Linked DNA regions of Homo sapiens: regions 1 and 2 are each linked to region 3. The links are contacts of gene promoters, found by promoter capture Hi-C in human tissues and cell types (Jung and others, 2019). All regions are on one chromosome and are shown on one strand. The core of a region is centred on a gene start or on the middle of the fragment in contact, and the rest is flanking DNA. Distances in the headings are between cores, read along the strand shown. Region 1 holds the start of RALY (RALY heterogeneous nuclear ribonucleoprotein). Region 2 overlaps ITCH (itchy E3 ubiquitin protein ligase). Region 3 holds the start of CEP250 (centrosomal protein 250).

Region 1 (4,325 bases), core at 1,826-4,325, 1.5 Mb before region 3:
TCACTCTGTTGCCTAGGCTGGATGCAGTGGTGTGAGCATGTCTCACTGTAGCCTTGGCCTCCTGGGCTCAAGTGATCCTCTGGCCTCAGCCTCCCAAGTAGCTGGAAGTACAGGCACATGCTACCATGCCAGCTAATTAAAATTTTTTTTTTTGTAGAGACAGGGTCTCACTATGTTGCCCAAGCTGGTCTCAAACTCCTGGGTTCAAGCAATCCTCCTGCCTCAGCCTCCCAGAATTCTGGGATTAAAGGAATGAGCCACTGTGCCCGGCATGACATTTGAGTTTTTGATCCATGCTGATGACATGGCAATGGGAGGCTATTGAAGGTTGTTTTTTGTTTTTCTGTTTTTGAGGCGGAGTCTCTCTCTGTGTCTCAGGCTGGAGTGCAGTGGCATGATCTCGGCTCACTGCAACCTCCACCTCCCAGGTTCAAGCGATTACCCCACCTCAGCCTCCTGAGTAGCTGGGATTACAGGTGCCTGCCACCACGCCCGGTTAATTTTTATATTTTTAGTAGAGATGGGGTTTCACCATGTTGCCCAGGCCGGTCTTGAACTCCTGACCTCAAGTAATCCCCCCCACCTCGGTCTCCCAAAGTACTGGGATTACAGGCGTGAGTTACCGCGCCCAGCCCATTGAAGGGTTTTGAGCAGAGAAGGAATGATGAGAGTTGGGCAGTAAGTAATGTATTGGTTGGGGGTAACTCTGGGGCAGGTGTAGTGAAAATCTATTATTCAATCTGCCCCAGAGCATGAACTCCATCTTTTGGGAAATGCATCTTTCTCTGACCATATGGTTCCGATGGGGCTGCCATCTCCCTGTACGTCCCACTTCCTTATTCACAGTATTGGTTAGAGAATGGCACCTGGCTTAAGTTGGGCCAGTCACAGCACCTGGTTTTCCACCCATAGATGATTGGTCTAGGGACGGGGACTTACCTATGTTGGACCAATCAAAGTTTTTCCCTAAAATTTTGTCCTTCAGACCAGAAGCAGAAATCCTCAGTCTCTCTCCGGTGGAACGGGTGAGAGTTGTGAGTGGTGAGCGCTGCTGCAGCCAGGTGCCTAGCCTTGAGGAGAAAAGCTCGCATACAGAGAGAAGAGATAAAGGACTGGGAGGAGAGTCCTGGCAACATTCAAGCCTCTGCGCTCACCACTTCAGTGCATTTTCTGAGCCTGGTTCTCCAGCCTTCCCATCAGTTCTGGGAGCTCCCCATTCCTTCCTGATAAATTCCTTTGCTGCATCTGTTAGTCTGAGTTTATTTATGTTTCGTAATTTGCAACCGAGAACACTGGTGATAACCGGGGGCTTTGAGGCAATTCCAGGAGGGCTACTTCTCACCCCCGTCAGGGAGGAGCCAAGACAGGGTTTATCCTCAAATGCAGATCCCCTGAGGTCAGGAGTTAGAGCCCAGCTTGGCCAACATGATGAAACCCCGTATCCACTGAAAATACAAAAATTAGCCGGGCATGGTGGTACACGCCTGTAATCCCAGCTACTTGGGAGGCTGAGGTACAAGAATCGCTTTGAACCCAGGAGGCAGAGGTTGCAGAGAGCCGAGATCGTGCCACTGCACTCCAGCCTAGGCGACAGAGCTAGACTCCGCCTCAAAAAACACACAAACAATGAACAGACAAATAAATGACAGAACAAGAAGACAAACTAGAGAACATCTTGAGACAAGGTGTTCAGGGAAGAGTTCTTTTGAGAAGGTGATATTAAAGCGAGTTTGGGGAAGAACGTCCCAGGCCTTGCGCTCAGGGTCGTCAACTCTTTGATTTCTCTTCCTTTTGAAGCAGGGCAGGGAGGTCATCAAACAACAGAAGGACAATTATAACTGCTGGTATGGCAAAGCCAGGACTCTGAATTCAAACTCTGCTCCATTCTCAGGAATCCCGTCTGTTAAGCAGGTTCTGGGGAAGCGATGTGAGTCATGAAATCACAGGTCGGAGGAGGCATCGAGAATATGGTCAGTTCTCAACTTTCAGGGAAATCCATAGCTGAGGAATGAAGGACAACGGGCTTCTCGTGCTCTCACTAGGAAGACTGGTTCACCGGAGGCTGGAACACTGAAAGTGAGAAATCCCGACAGGAGAAATGTGTAGGAGAGAGGACTAGCACCTGGATCAAGTTATAAAACATCTCCTGCATCTTTTTCGGAGATCACCCTTAGCGCGGCCTCTCCGCCCAGTCCCAGATTAGGCAGCGAAGAGCGACCCTCACCTTGTCTAGGTGGCACGTTCCTTAAAAGCGAAAGGACCAGGAGTTTCTTCCTGCCTCGTCTCTTCCGGATCCCTCCTGCACCGCCCACAGCCTGCAGATTTGAGCGCCATCTCCAGGCCCCGCCCACCTCAAGCACCACCCCTCAGTCCTTCCTTGGGGCACGCCTCCTTCCGGCACCCGCCCAGAGTAGCCACCCCCGGGGCCCCTCCTCCCCTCCCTGCTTCCGGGCCCGCCTCCTTCAGGCCCGCTTCCATCTTCCTCCCACTCTAAGCTTCTCTTCAGCCCCGCCTCCCTCCACCCGTGGCTCCGCCCTCTGGGCGATTCTCCATTTAGCCCCGCCCACAGCATCTCCTTTCAAGCGCTGTCCTGGTTCCCGGCTCTCCATCTCCTGCACGGCCTTCCCCACTGGTCCGGCGACCCTCTTCCCAGGGCCTCATCACCATCTTAGCTCCGCCCCTACTTCGGCTCCAAACCTGTGCAAGCTGCCCTCTTCCCGCCCCAGCCCCGCCTCCCCAAGCCGCGTCTCAGTCCCTCCTCCCTTTCAGGCCCCACCCTGGCCCCGCCTTCCTCCCGTCCCCGCCGAAGCTCTGGACCTTTCCAAAGCCAGGCTGAGAGGGTGGGGAGAGCCCATGCGCCTGGGAAGCCGGGCTGTTTCTGGGCGGGGCTGCAGACTCCTCGTGCTCGTGTCACCGTGTCCTTCCCAGGAGACAGAGAAGGAGGAGAGCCCGGAACCAGGGCCGGAGCGGCGGGCGGAGCCGAGCTGCGGGGAGCCGCTCCGGGTGCCCCCACCCCCGCGCGCCTCAGTGGTGCCGGCCGAGGGCAGGGCTCGCGGTTGCGGGGCTCGCGCCGCTGTCAGTGCGGCGGGGCGCGCGAGCGGCGCCAGCTCGGGGCAGCGGAACCCAGAGAAGCTGAGGGGGCGGTAGCGGCGGCGACGGCGACGACGACGACTCCCGCGCGTGTGCCCAGCCTCTTCCCGCCGCAGCCGCCCTTTTCCTCCCTCCCTTACGTCCCCGAGTGCGGCAGTACCGCCTCCTTCCCAGCCGCGCGGCTTCCTCCAGACCTCTCGGCGCGGGTGAGTGGGGACTGCGGGCGTCTCCTTAGGGGTGCGGGGAGGGTGTGTGCTTTGTGCCTTTCCGTTCACTCACTTCTTCCGGCAGGCCGCTGCCTATTTTTAGAAACTTATTTCTGCCCTTCGGGGAGTCCCGGGAGCCCGAGTAACTCTAGGCCCCCTCCGCCGCTCCTTTCTCCCACTCGGACCCGCCGCCCCGGGTCCCCGGCCCCAGCCCTCCGCGCCCGGTCCTGCTCCCGGCGTTCCCTGTCTGCTCTCTCCGCGGGCCAAGTCTGGGCCAGTAGTTGGCTGGGTGGGCCCGCGCCCGCTCGGAAGTTGGAGTCTTTTGTGCTCGTGCCCCGCCCCGCCCGGCGAGGGGCGGAGGGAGGGGAACGGAGGCTGCTCCGGGGAGGCCGCAGGCGGGCCCGGCCGCGGCTGCTTCCGGCTCTCCTAACCCGGACTGGGTCTACGGGCTCCCGGAGGCGCGCAGAGCTTGTCCTGCCTCGGCTCCCGCCTCTTCTGGGCTCTTTGCACGCCTTGGGCTCGGAGAGAAACAACAACGGGCCCTCGAACTGGGGCCGTATCCGCGTTTCACTCAGCCTCCTTGGCGGCCGAGTCTTAGTTTGCCTCTCGGTGACATGGGGGGAAAGAAGGAAACTCGCTTTGCGGGGTGTTCGTGGATTCAGGGAGGGAACTAATATGTGAAAGAAGTGTTTAACACCGACAGGGAACATTTAATGAGACTTCACCCAGGAACTTCCCAAGCCTTATTTCATTTAATGTTCACAACGGCCTTCTGGTTTATCCTCATTTACAAAAGCAGAAATTAAGGCGCAGAGGGGTCAAGTAATTTTCTCCAAGTCACAGTAGCCACAGAAGTGCAAAGGAGTGGTGCCAGTACCTATTATTTATTAATATTTCCTGGTGTGAGCATGTATCATCTCTTAGTGCAGAGGGTATTTTTACCTAGCCTTGGGTCACACCATTTAATTAGGGGCATAACTCTGGGTTTTCCCTGACTTCTGGGCCGTTGTCCACTATACTGTGGATGAA
Region 2 (4,317 bases), core at 1,021-3,520, 1.0 Mb before region 3:
AGAATGACAAGAAGTGTCTGTTTTTTACTGTTTTATTCATCAAGTCAGGAAGTGTTCTAATCTGCATTTGGATTTGATGTTCAGTAATTTCAGTATTGTTTATTATGTGATTTTTCAACAAAGTCAGAAATCCGTTCTACAGCCACAGCACTTCCTCTCATTAAGTAGATGAGCCTTCAGTTCACAAATGTGTCAAGGCTGATCTCAGCAGCATATACTTAGAATATATATGAGAAAAATGTTTGCTATTAATTTTCTCTTGCCTCATGTTATCTTCTGAAAGGAAAATCTTGGCCTGAAATCTGAACTTTGCTGACAGATAAAAGATGAATGGCCATTACAGTGGCTCACGCCTGTAATCCCAGTACTTTGGGAGGCCAAGGCTTGTGTCCAGGAGTTCGATACCAGGCTGGGGCAACATGGTGAAACCCCATCTTTACAAAAAATACAAAAATTAGTTGGGTGTGGCATGCCTGTAGTTCCAGCTACTTGGGTGGCTGAAGTGGGAGGGTTGCTTGAGCCCCGGAGGTCAAGGCTATAGTGCGCTGTGATTGTATCACTGCACTCCAGCCTGGACAACAGAGTGATACTCTTTCAAAAAACCAAAAGAGAGAGAAAAAAGTTGAGTATGTGCTCAGCTATATACTTAGGGTATTATTTTTAGGTTATAAAAATTATTTGGATATATATTTTTAAACAAGAAAGAGAATTCTGGCTGGGTACGGTGGCTCATGCCTGTAATTCCAGCACTTTGGGAGGTCGAGGCGGGTGAATCACCTGAGGTCAGGAGTTCGTGATCAGCCTGGCCAACATGGTGAAATGCTGTCTCCACAAAAAATACAAAAATTAGCTGGGAGTGGTGGTGGACGTCTGTAGTACCAGCTATTTGGGAGGCTGAGGCAGGAGAATTGCTTAAACCTGAGAGGTCGAGGCTGCAGTGAGCTGAGATCGCGCCACTGCACTCCAGTCCAGCCTGGGTGACAGAGCAAGGCTCCGTCTCAAAAAAGAAGAAGAAGAACAAAGAGAGAATTCTGGATTCTGCAAATAAATTTTTAAAATTTAATGCGACTGCCAAGACATGAACTTATCTTGCTGTTATGTTAACAAGAGCAAGCTGTAACACTGTGGGTGATTATGTTTTTCTTTTTTTTTTTTTTGAGACGGAGTCTCGCTCTGTCGCCCAGGCTGGAGTGCAGTGGCGCGATCTCGGCTCACTGCAACCTCCGCCTCCCGGGTTCACGCCATTCTCCTGCCTCAGCCTCCCGAGTAGCTGGGACTACAGGCGCCCGCTACCACGCCCGGCTAATTTTTTGTATTTTTAGTAGAGACGGGGTTTCATTGTGTTAGCCAGGATGGTCTCGATCTCCTGACCTCGTGATCCGCCCGCCTCGGCCTCCCAAAGTGCTGGGATTACAGGTGTGAGCCACCGCGCCCGGCCTATGTTTTTCTTTAGAGACAGCCTTTGAGTTGGTGATAAGCTTATGCACTGAAGATGCCTTGACCAGCAAAACCTGTGTCATGAGAGGCAGAGTCCCACTTTTCTGTATATTATGCACATTGGAATTCTATTTTCATTTTAAGCTAAGCTGACATAGAAAGTAGCTTTAAATGTCAGAAGCAGGTTTGTGATACTCACTAGTTACATCCATTTTAACCTCTGTTATCACTACTACTTGAAATCATGGAATTATATTGGAAATAAAATTAAATATTACCAAATACGAACTTGACAAGACTATAATTTGGCCTAAAACTGATCCAGATGATCTCAAGTGTTAATTTGAAAAATAGTTACCAATTTTTCTTTTTTCTTTTCCTGTTTTTTTTTTTTTTTTTTTTTTTTTTTTTGAGATGGAGTTTTGCTCTTGTCGCCCAGGCTGGAGTGCAATGGCATGATCTTGGCTCACTGCAACCTCTGCCTCCCGGGTTCAAGCGATTCTCCTGCCTCAGTCTCCCTAGTAGCTGGGATTACAGATGCCCACCACCATGCCCAGCTAATTTTTGTATTTTTAGTAGAGACGGGGTTTCGACCTGTTGGCCACGCTGGTCTCAAACTCGTGACCTCAGGCCATCCGCCTGCCTTATAACTCCCAGAGTCCTGGGATTACAGGCGTGAGCCACAGCGCAGGACCAATAGTTAACCAATTTTTCAAACCACAGGAAATAAAAATTAGCCATGTCAACATGGATTAAACTTAAATTTTTGTTTAAAATGCTGATTTTTAGAAACTAAGCTTTTTAAAAAGTTTCAGTTCATTCTATGATCTTTAATACATCAGTTCATTCTATGATCTTTAATACATCAGTTATTCATTTTGAGACATGTTGAACAAATAAATTAGGATACAGCAGGAATCCCATCTTTTGAAGAATTCATTGGTAATGGGACAGAGAAGTCAGTAATTCAAAAACAGCAGAACTGTTAAAATTTCAAGTCTACTTAATTTGTTTACTAAAAGAGAAAATGATATCCACATTTTTTTTTTTTTTTTGAGACGGAGTCTTGCTCTGTCGCCAGGCTGTAATCCATCTCGGCACACTGTAACCTCTGCGTCCCGGGTTCAAGCAGTTCTCCTGCCTCAGCCTCTCGAGTTGCTGGGACTACAGGTGCACACCGCCATGCCTGGCTAATTTTTTTTTTTTTTCTTTTTTGTATTTTAGTAGAGACGGGGTTTCACCATGTTGCCCAGGTTGGTCTTGAACTCCTGAGCTCAGGCAGTCCGCCCGCCTCTGCCTCCCAACGTGCTAGAATTACAGGCATGAGCTACTGCGCCCGGCCAATATCCACATCTTCTAAACCTTAATGGGGAGATTTCAGGAAAGCAGGTAAAATTTTGTAGACTGGGAACACGAAAACAGGGAGAATCCTAAAGCAAGAGGCAGTTGGGGAACAAGCAGCAGCTTTAGATGCAGTAATTAGAGAACTGAGTTCTGCTTCCTATCCCTTGTATAGAAAGTTACTGTAGATATTTAGGATTTTGGAACTGGGTATATTAAGGAACGAGATATGTTAAGTGTATTAAGAAAGGAAGTATTTTTTAGTTGAATAATGCCTAGCATATACCTTATATTATATTCCTTATTTTGTATATATATGTATGTATATATACACACTCTCAAATTACATTATATTCCTTATTTTATATATATTTTTATATATTGTGTGTGTGTGTGTGTGTGTGTGTGTATATATATATATATATATATATATATATATTTTTTTTTTTTTTTTTTTTTTTTTTTTGAGACAGGGCCTCACTTTGTCACCCAGGCTAGAGTGCAGTGGCATGATCTCAGCTCACTGCAGTCTTGACCTCCCAGGTTCAGGTGACCCTCCTGCCTTAGCCCCGGAAGTTGCTTCTCTGTCCCATTACCAATTAATTCTTCAAAAGATGGGACTCTTCTGGTATCCTAATTTTTTTATTTGTTCAACATGTCTCAAAATGAATAACTGATGTATTAAAGATCACAGAATGGATTCAAACTTTTTAAAAAGCTTAGTTTCTAAAAATCAAGTTGTACAAGTTGTGGGGCTAAGGCAGGAGGATCACCTGAACCTGGGAGGTCAAGGCTGTAGTGAGCTGAGATCACGCCACTGCACTCCAGCCAGGGTGACAAAGTGAGACCTTGTCTCCAAAAAAAAAAATATATATATATATATGTGTGTGTGTGTGTATTTATATATACAAATGTATATTTAATATATATCAAATATATATATTAGTGGGCTGCCAGCACGGCCCACTAATTTTTTTGTATTTTTTGTAGAGATGAGGGTTCACCATATGGCCCAGGCTGGTCTCAAACTCCTGAGCTCAAGCAATCTACTTGCCTTGGCCTCCCAAAGTGCTGGGATTACAGGCCTGAGCCACCCCGCCTGGCACCTTACTATATTTTAATGAATGAAATGATGTAGTATGGAAAAAAAAAAAATCCCTAAATGGAGACCTGAGTTTCCATCTCATCTCTGCTACTTAATTCTGAGGTTTCAGGTAGATTATTTAACCTATCTGAGTTTTCTTATCTTAAGGATAAAGATGAATTCACCTACCCTATGGGACTATTAAGAATAAAATGAAGGTCCTGTGTAAAAAACTAAATAACTGTTCATTATTCTTGCTGCTGTTGGTTGGATTGAGTAGAAAGGTCCTATGGTTAGGACATTATAAAGTACGTCTACTTAGCTTCTAAGATGTAATATTTCTATAACTTCAGTAAGGATGTGCATTTAATAGTCAATAAATTAAACCTTTTAAAGCTGTGATTTAAAAACTATAAAATAAACAATGAAATGAGAAATGGGCAAATTCAAATAAT
Region 3 (4,763 bases), core at 1,009-3,508:
TTTAAGCTGGGACCTGAAGGACAGGAAGGTACCAGCTAGGCCAAGAGCTGGGGGAAAAGTGGTCTAGGTAGCTGGCATAGTGTATGCAAACGCCCTGAGGCAGAAAAGAGCTTGATGTGCATAATATTTAGATTGTTTCATTTGTATTTCAAATATTGTTGCAGTGAACATTCAAGCACAATGCCTGTTGTGGGATTATTTCCCTAGGATGGAATCCCACACCACTGCTTCTTTGCATCGTTTTCTCTGTCTAGTGCCTGGAGATGTTCCTTTTCCCCTCTCTAGATAGTTTGCCTTTCAGAATCCGTGTCCTTCCTTCCCCTTTTACTCTCCACTTTCTCTATTTCTCAAATTAGCTATTAAGATCTTTTTTGTGTTCTTACAGGAGAAAGATAAAATATAGCTTTTAAGCGTTCCTTTCTCAGGTTACCTTTGGCTGTGGATTAACCTGAAGCCTTGCTGTTTCACTCGAGCTATCCACTCATTCACCCATTCACTCAGCACTTATTGAGCACCTATTTTGTACCAGGCCTTGTGCTGAGCGCTATAGTCAGATGACCAAATTACAGTCTCTACGCTCAAGCTCACAATCTCATGCAGCGCTTCCTAAAACGTGTTCCCAATTATCAGAATCACCCTGGGTACTTTCTAAAATGCAGATTCCTGGACTCCACCCCCGGTTTAGGGATTCTCTGGGGGTGGAAACCAAGAGTCTGCATTTACCAGTTTTGTTTTTAATTCCTACTAAAAATTGAGAACCACTGAGTGCAAGAGTGAGGCAGGTAAATGGAGTTTACAACTCTAAGAAAGTGCATTAACAATTTATACACAAGGCCGGGCGCGGTGGCTCACGCCTGTAATCCCAGCCCTTTGGGAGGCCGAGGCGGGAGGATCACGAGGTCAAGAGAGATCGAGACCATCCTGGCCAACATGGTGAAATCCTGTCTCTACTAAAAATACAAAAATTAGCCGGGCGTGGTGGCGGGCGCCTGTAGTCCCAGCTACTCGGGAGGCTGAGGCAGGAGAATTACTTGAACCTGGGAGGCAGAGGTTGCAGTGAGCCGAGATCGTGCCAATGCACTCCAGCCTGGCGACAGAGCAAGACTCCATTTCAAAAAAAAAAAAAAAAATTTATACACAAAATGCTACAGGAATAACGCATGGGTCCTATTGGGAAGAAAAAGTTCTCTAGAAGTCAGGCTTAAGCAGAACTGCAGCTCCGGGACGGATTAAGTCAGGTAAAGGTAACACTCTGTGCAGAGACATGCAGACAAAACCGAGTGTTGAGTAAGTAACTCGCCTGTAAGTGTTATGCTGCCTGAAGCTTCTCGGAGCGTCTGAGCAGCAAGGTGAACAACCCTCAGAAACCGGTCGCGCTGCCAGTATTATCGCTAACCAGTGGCAGCGAGCCCCTTTGTTTCTCGGCAGTTGTAATTGTAGTCTGGTTTGTAGGTGGAGCTGTGCGCAGGCGCACCTAGAACCAGGTGACCTTGCACATGCGCTGTATGTAACACTGAAGCCAAAAGCGAAATGATTGAGGGCAATTTTTCTTTTCTGCTTCCGAAATGTCCCTTTCGCGAATCCAGAGACCCTGACCGTCCCCATTTCTGGCTAGGGATCTTATAATTCTTAAAATAATACCCCCTTTCCTTCAGGGCCTCTCTAGTAAGTCGGCTGCCAATACCCAACATGGCGGGAGGCCCTGCGCCGGCTCAGTCTGCCTATAGGTGCAGGACTTGGAGGGGCGGGCCCCTCCCAAAGGGCGGGAGTTTGGGGGGGCGGGGCCTGGCCCTCTGCCTCGGGGTGGGCTCCGCCCCCGTCCCCCGCAGGGCCTTAGCAGCGGCTGCCGCAGCTCAATCGCGGAGCAACTAGCCGGGCGTCTGCGGGAGCCGAGCGTGGTGAGGTGGGGCCTCAGGGGCAGGTGGGAGGTGCTCGGGTTAACCGTCCGAGGCCCGGAGACCCGCCCGTCTAGGGCGCCTGAGGGAATCCCGTTCGGGCAGCGGCCTCTTGTTACCCGGGAGGAACCCGAGGCCCAGAGAGGGGCTGGGACGCGTCGTTAGGGCCCGGGGCCCGCTTGCCTCAGCTTCTTGCTGCCGCCAGCACGCTAAGCTCCAGTCGGCGCCGAAGGAGAGCTTCCCGACCCTCGTGTCCAGTAGCCGCAATCCCAGGCTGGGAGGGTGAGGCGCCGCGCTCTGCCGCCCCCCCGCCCCTCGCTCCCTGTGTCCTGGCGGATTTGCACGTAATCTATCCGAAAGCCCAGTCCCACCCGCCACCCGACTCTGGAGCTCCCATTCTTCAGGACCCTGCTGAAGTATCGCTTCTCAGCCGCCTTCTCCAGGCGCAGCTGCATTCGCTTCTCGGTTTTTGCACTCGCTGTGCACCGAGTTACTTTCCCGGCCCCTCGTTGACACCGTAAGCTCGTTCGTTAGATGTTATGCCTTGCCTTTTTCATCTCTAGATCCCAGGGCCTAGCACGTGATGATAATAGTCATGGCTTACTGTACGGAATGATCACAAATTGTCAGGTGCTACTGAATGCATTACACATAAGGGCCCATTTATTTATTTATTTAGAGACGGAGTTTCGCGCTTGTTGCCCAGGCTGGAGTGCAATGGCGCGATCTCGGCTCACCTCAACCTCCGCCTCCCGGGTTCAAGCGATTCTCCTGCCTCAGCCTCCCAAGTAGCTGGGATTGCAGGCATGCGCCACCACACCCGGCTAATTTTATGTTTTTAGTAGAGACGGGGTTTCTCCATGTTGGTCAGGCTGATCTCGAACTCCCGACCTCAGGTGATCCGCCCGCTTCGGCCTCCCAAAGTGCTGGGATTACAGGCGTGAGCCACCGCGCTCAGCCAAAGGCCTATTTAATCTTCCCAACAATCCTATGGGGTGAGTTCTTTCTATAGCTTCACGTTTTACCCATGAAGAAACTGAGGTATTCATAGAAAAAGTAATTTGCCAGGAGTCCCACAACTAATAAGTGGATGGAGCTGGGAAACTGTCCCCAGGGCATTTGATGACTTGACTAGATTGCCTTTGGGTTTAATCAACGTCTGTTGAATTGATCTTTACTTTGGCCCTGGGAGTTATTGGAGGCTAGGCTTGTGATCAGTATTTTACCGCGAAGGCTTAGAAAGGAGAACTGGTCCCAGATTTATAGAGGTCACAACAAAACCAAGGCTACTGGTACGCCCTCTGTTCCTTTAGTTCTTCTATCTTTCTTTGCTCCTTTTCGATCAGAAAGCTGCAGACATAGGTGTCATTATCGCTCACTATTTAAGAAGTGCCCCTCACAGAGCTGTGAGTTCGTAGTCCATGCTTTAACTAATGTAATGTTCATGCTTTAACAGCTAATGTAATGGAGAGAGTGTAGAATTTGGAATCAGATTGGGGTTCAGTCATTGCTCTGCCACTGACCAAGCTATAAGTTATATGCCTCCCCCCACTTTTTTTTTTTTTTTTGAGACCTGGTCTCAGTCACCCAGGCTGGAGTGCAGTGGTGCGATCTGGGTTCACTGGAACATCCTGTCTCCCAGGTTCAGGCGATTCTCCCGCCTCAGCCTCCTGAGTAGCTGGGATTACAGGCGCCCGCCACCGTGCCTGGCTAATTTTTGTATTTCTAGGAGAGATGGGGTTTTGCCATGTTGGCCAAGCTGGTCTCGAACTCCTGGCCTCAAATGATCTGCCCAACTCAGCCTCCCAAAGTGCTGGGATTACAGTTGTGAGCCACCACACCCAGCCTGTTTTTTTGCTTTTTATATAGGTAATAGAGCTGTTAGCATTTTGCAAGACCATTGGTGATAATATGGATCATGTTACCTAATGTCCTATAATAGTCAGTAATAATGGGCACTTGTTATAAACCAGGCTGTGTTTTAGGTAGGAGCTGGGAATACAGCATTCGATAAAACAATGCTTTTGCACTTGTGGAATTTGCATTTTGGTAAGTATATTACATAATAATTAGATAGGGACAGAAAAAGCATGGTAAGGTAAATAAAAGTACTAGTGTTATGTGGAGAGGTGATAGTATTTTATTTATTTATTTATTTGAGCATCTTGTCCCAGGCTGGAGTGCAGTGGCGTGATCACAGCTCACTGCAGCCTCGAACTCCTTGGCTCAAGCAGCCCTCCCACCTTAACTTCCCAAGTAGCTGGGACTACAGGTGAATGCCACACAGCCAGCAATTTTTTTTTTTTTAATAGAGATGGGAATCTCCCTGTGTTGCCCAGGCTGGTCTTGAACTCCTGGCCTCAAGAGATCCTCCCACCTTGGTGAAACTCTGTCTCTACTAAAAATACAAAAAAATTAGCTGGTCGTGGTGGCACATGCTTGTAATCCCAGCTACTCAGGAGGCTGAGACATGAGAATTGCCTGAACCGGGGAGGCAGAGGTTGCAGTGAGCTGAGATCATGCCAGTGCACTACAGCCTGGGTAACAGAGCCAGATCCTGTCTCAAAAACAAAACAAAACACTGGATGAGATTACCTTGGAAATTAATGGAGATGGAGAAGAGGTCTGAAGCCTTGAGGTTTCCAAACTTTAGATACTGGGGAGATGAGAAAAGGCAGCAAAGGAGACTGAGTGGGAGAGGCCAGAGGTTGGAAGAGAGCAACAGAGAGGCCCCACATGAGATTTAAATAAGGAGCTGCATGCTAATTTGTTTTTTTCAGGAGTAAGAAACAAATTATGTCTGTACACAAATGTCTATACTGTAGTTTCTTTCTCAGTAAATAAAATGTTTGTGTCCTCAAGTATTTT

The links. The method cuts DNA at HindIII sites, captures the fragments that hold promoters and counts their contacts. A contact is called where the count stands out against the background at its distance.
Region 1: a contact is called between the fragment with the promoter of RALY here and the fragment with the promoter of CEP250 in region 3, in 1 of the 25 tissues and cell types used here (hippocampus).
Region 2: a fragment that was not itself captured here is called in contact with the fragment with the promoter of CEP250 in region 3 in 1 of the 25 tissues and cell types used here (aorta).

Annotation. Positions count from the first base shown.
Region 1 is chr20:33,990,836-33,995,160 of GRCh38, forward strand. RALY (RALY heterogeneous nuclear ribonucleoprotein) reads left to right here and starts at 3,076. Exons shown (of 10, transcript NM_016732.3): 1 at 3,076-3,296. It overlaps RALY-AS1 (RALY antisense RNA 1), which reads right to left and starts at 3,532. Exons shown (of 2, transcript NR_109886.1): 1 at 3,370-3,532; 2 at 1,653-2,070. RefSeq lists enhancers at 1,977-2,056, 1,993-2,519 and silencers at 2,297-2,546, 2,717-2,826, 3,007-3,136, 3,197-3,246, 3,467-3,796. The HindIII fragment of the contact is 6,560 bases long and covers 1,002-4,325 here.
Region 2 is chr20:34,452,999-34,457,315 of GRCh38, forward strand. The region is part of intron 12 of ITCH (itchy E3 ubiquitin protein ligase); the gene reads left to right. Among named protein-coding and RNA genes, the nearest start is that of MIR644A, 11 kb to the right of the region's middle. The HindIII fragment of the contact is 4,557 bases long and covers 1-4,317 here.
Region 3 is chr20:35,453,340-35,458,102 of GRCh38, forward strand. It overlaps CEP250 (centrosomal protein 250), which reads left to right and starts at 2,259. Exons shown (of 35, transcript NM_007186.6): 1 at 2,259-2,412. It overlaps MIR1289-1 (microRNA 1289-1), which reads right to left and starts at 758; the gene lies at 615-758. It also overlaps a transcript of GDF5 not described here. RefSeq lists enhancers at 1,194-1,243, 1,504-1,653 and a silencer at 1,674-2,053. The HindIII fragment of the contact is 9,261 bases long and covers 440-4,763 here.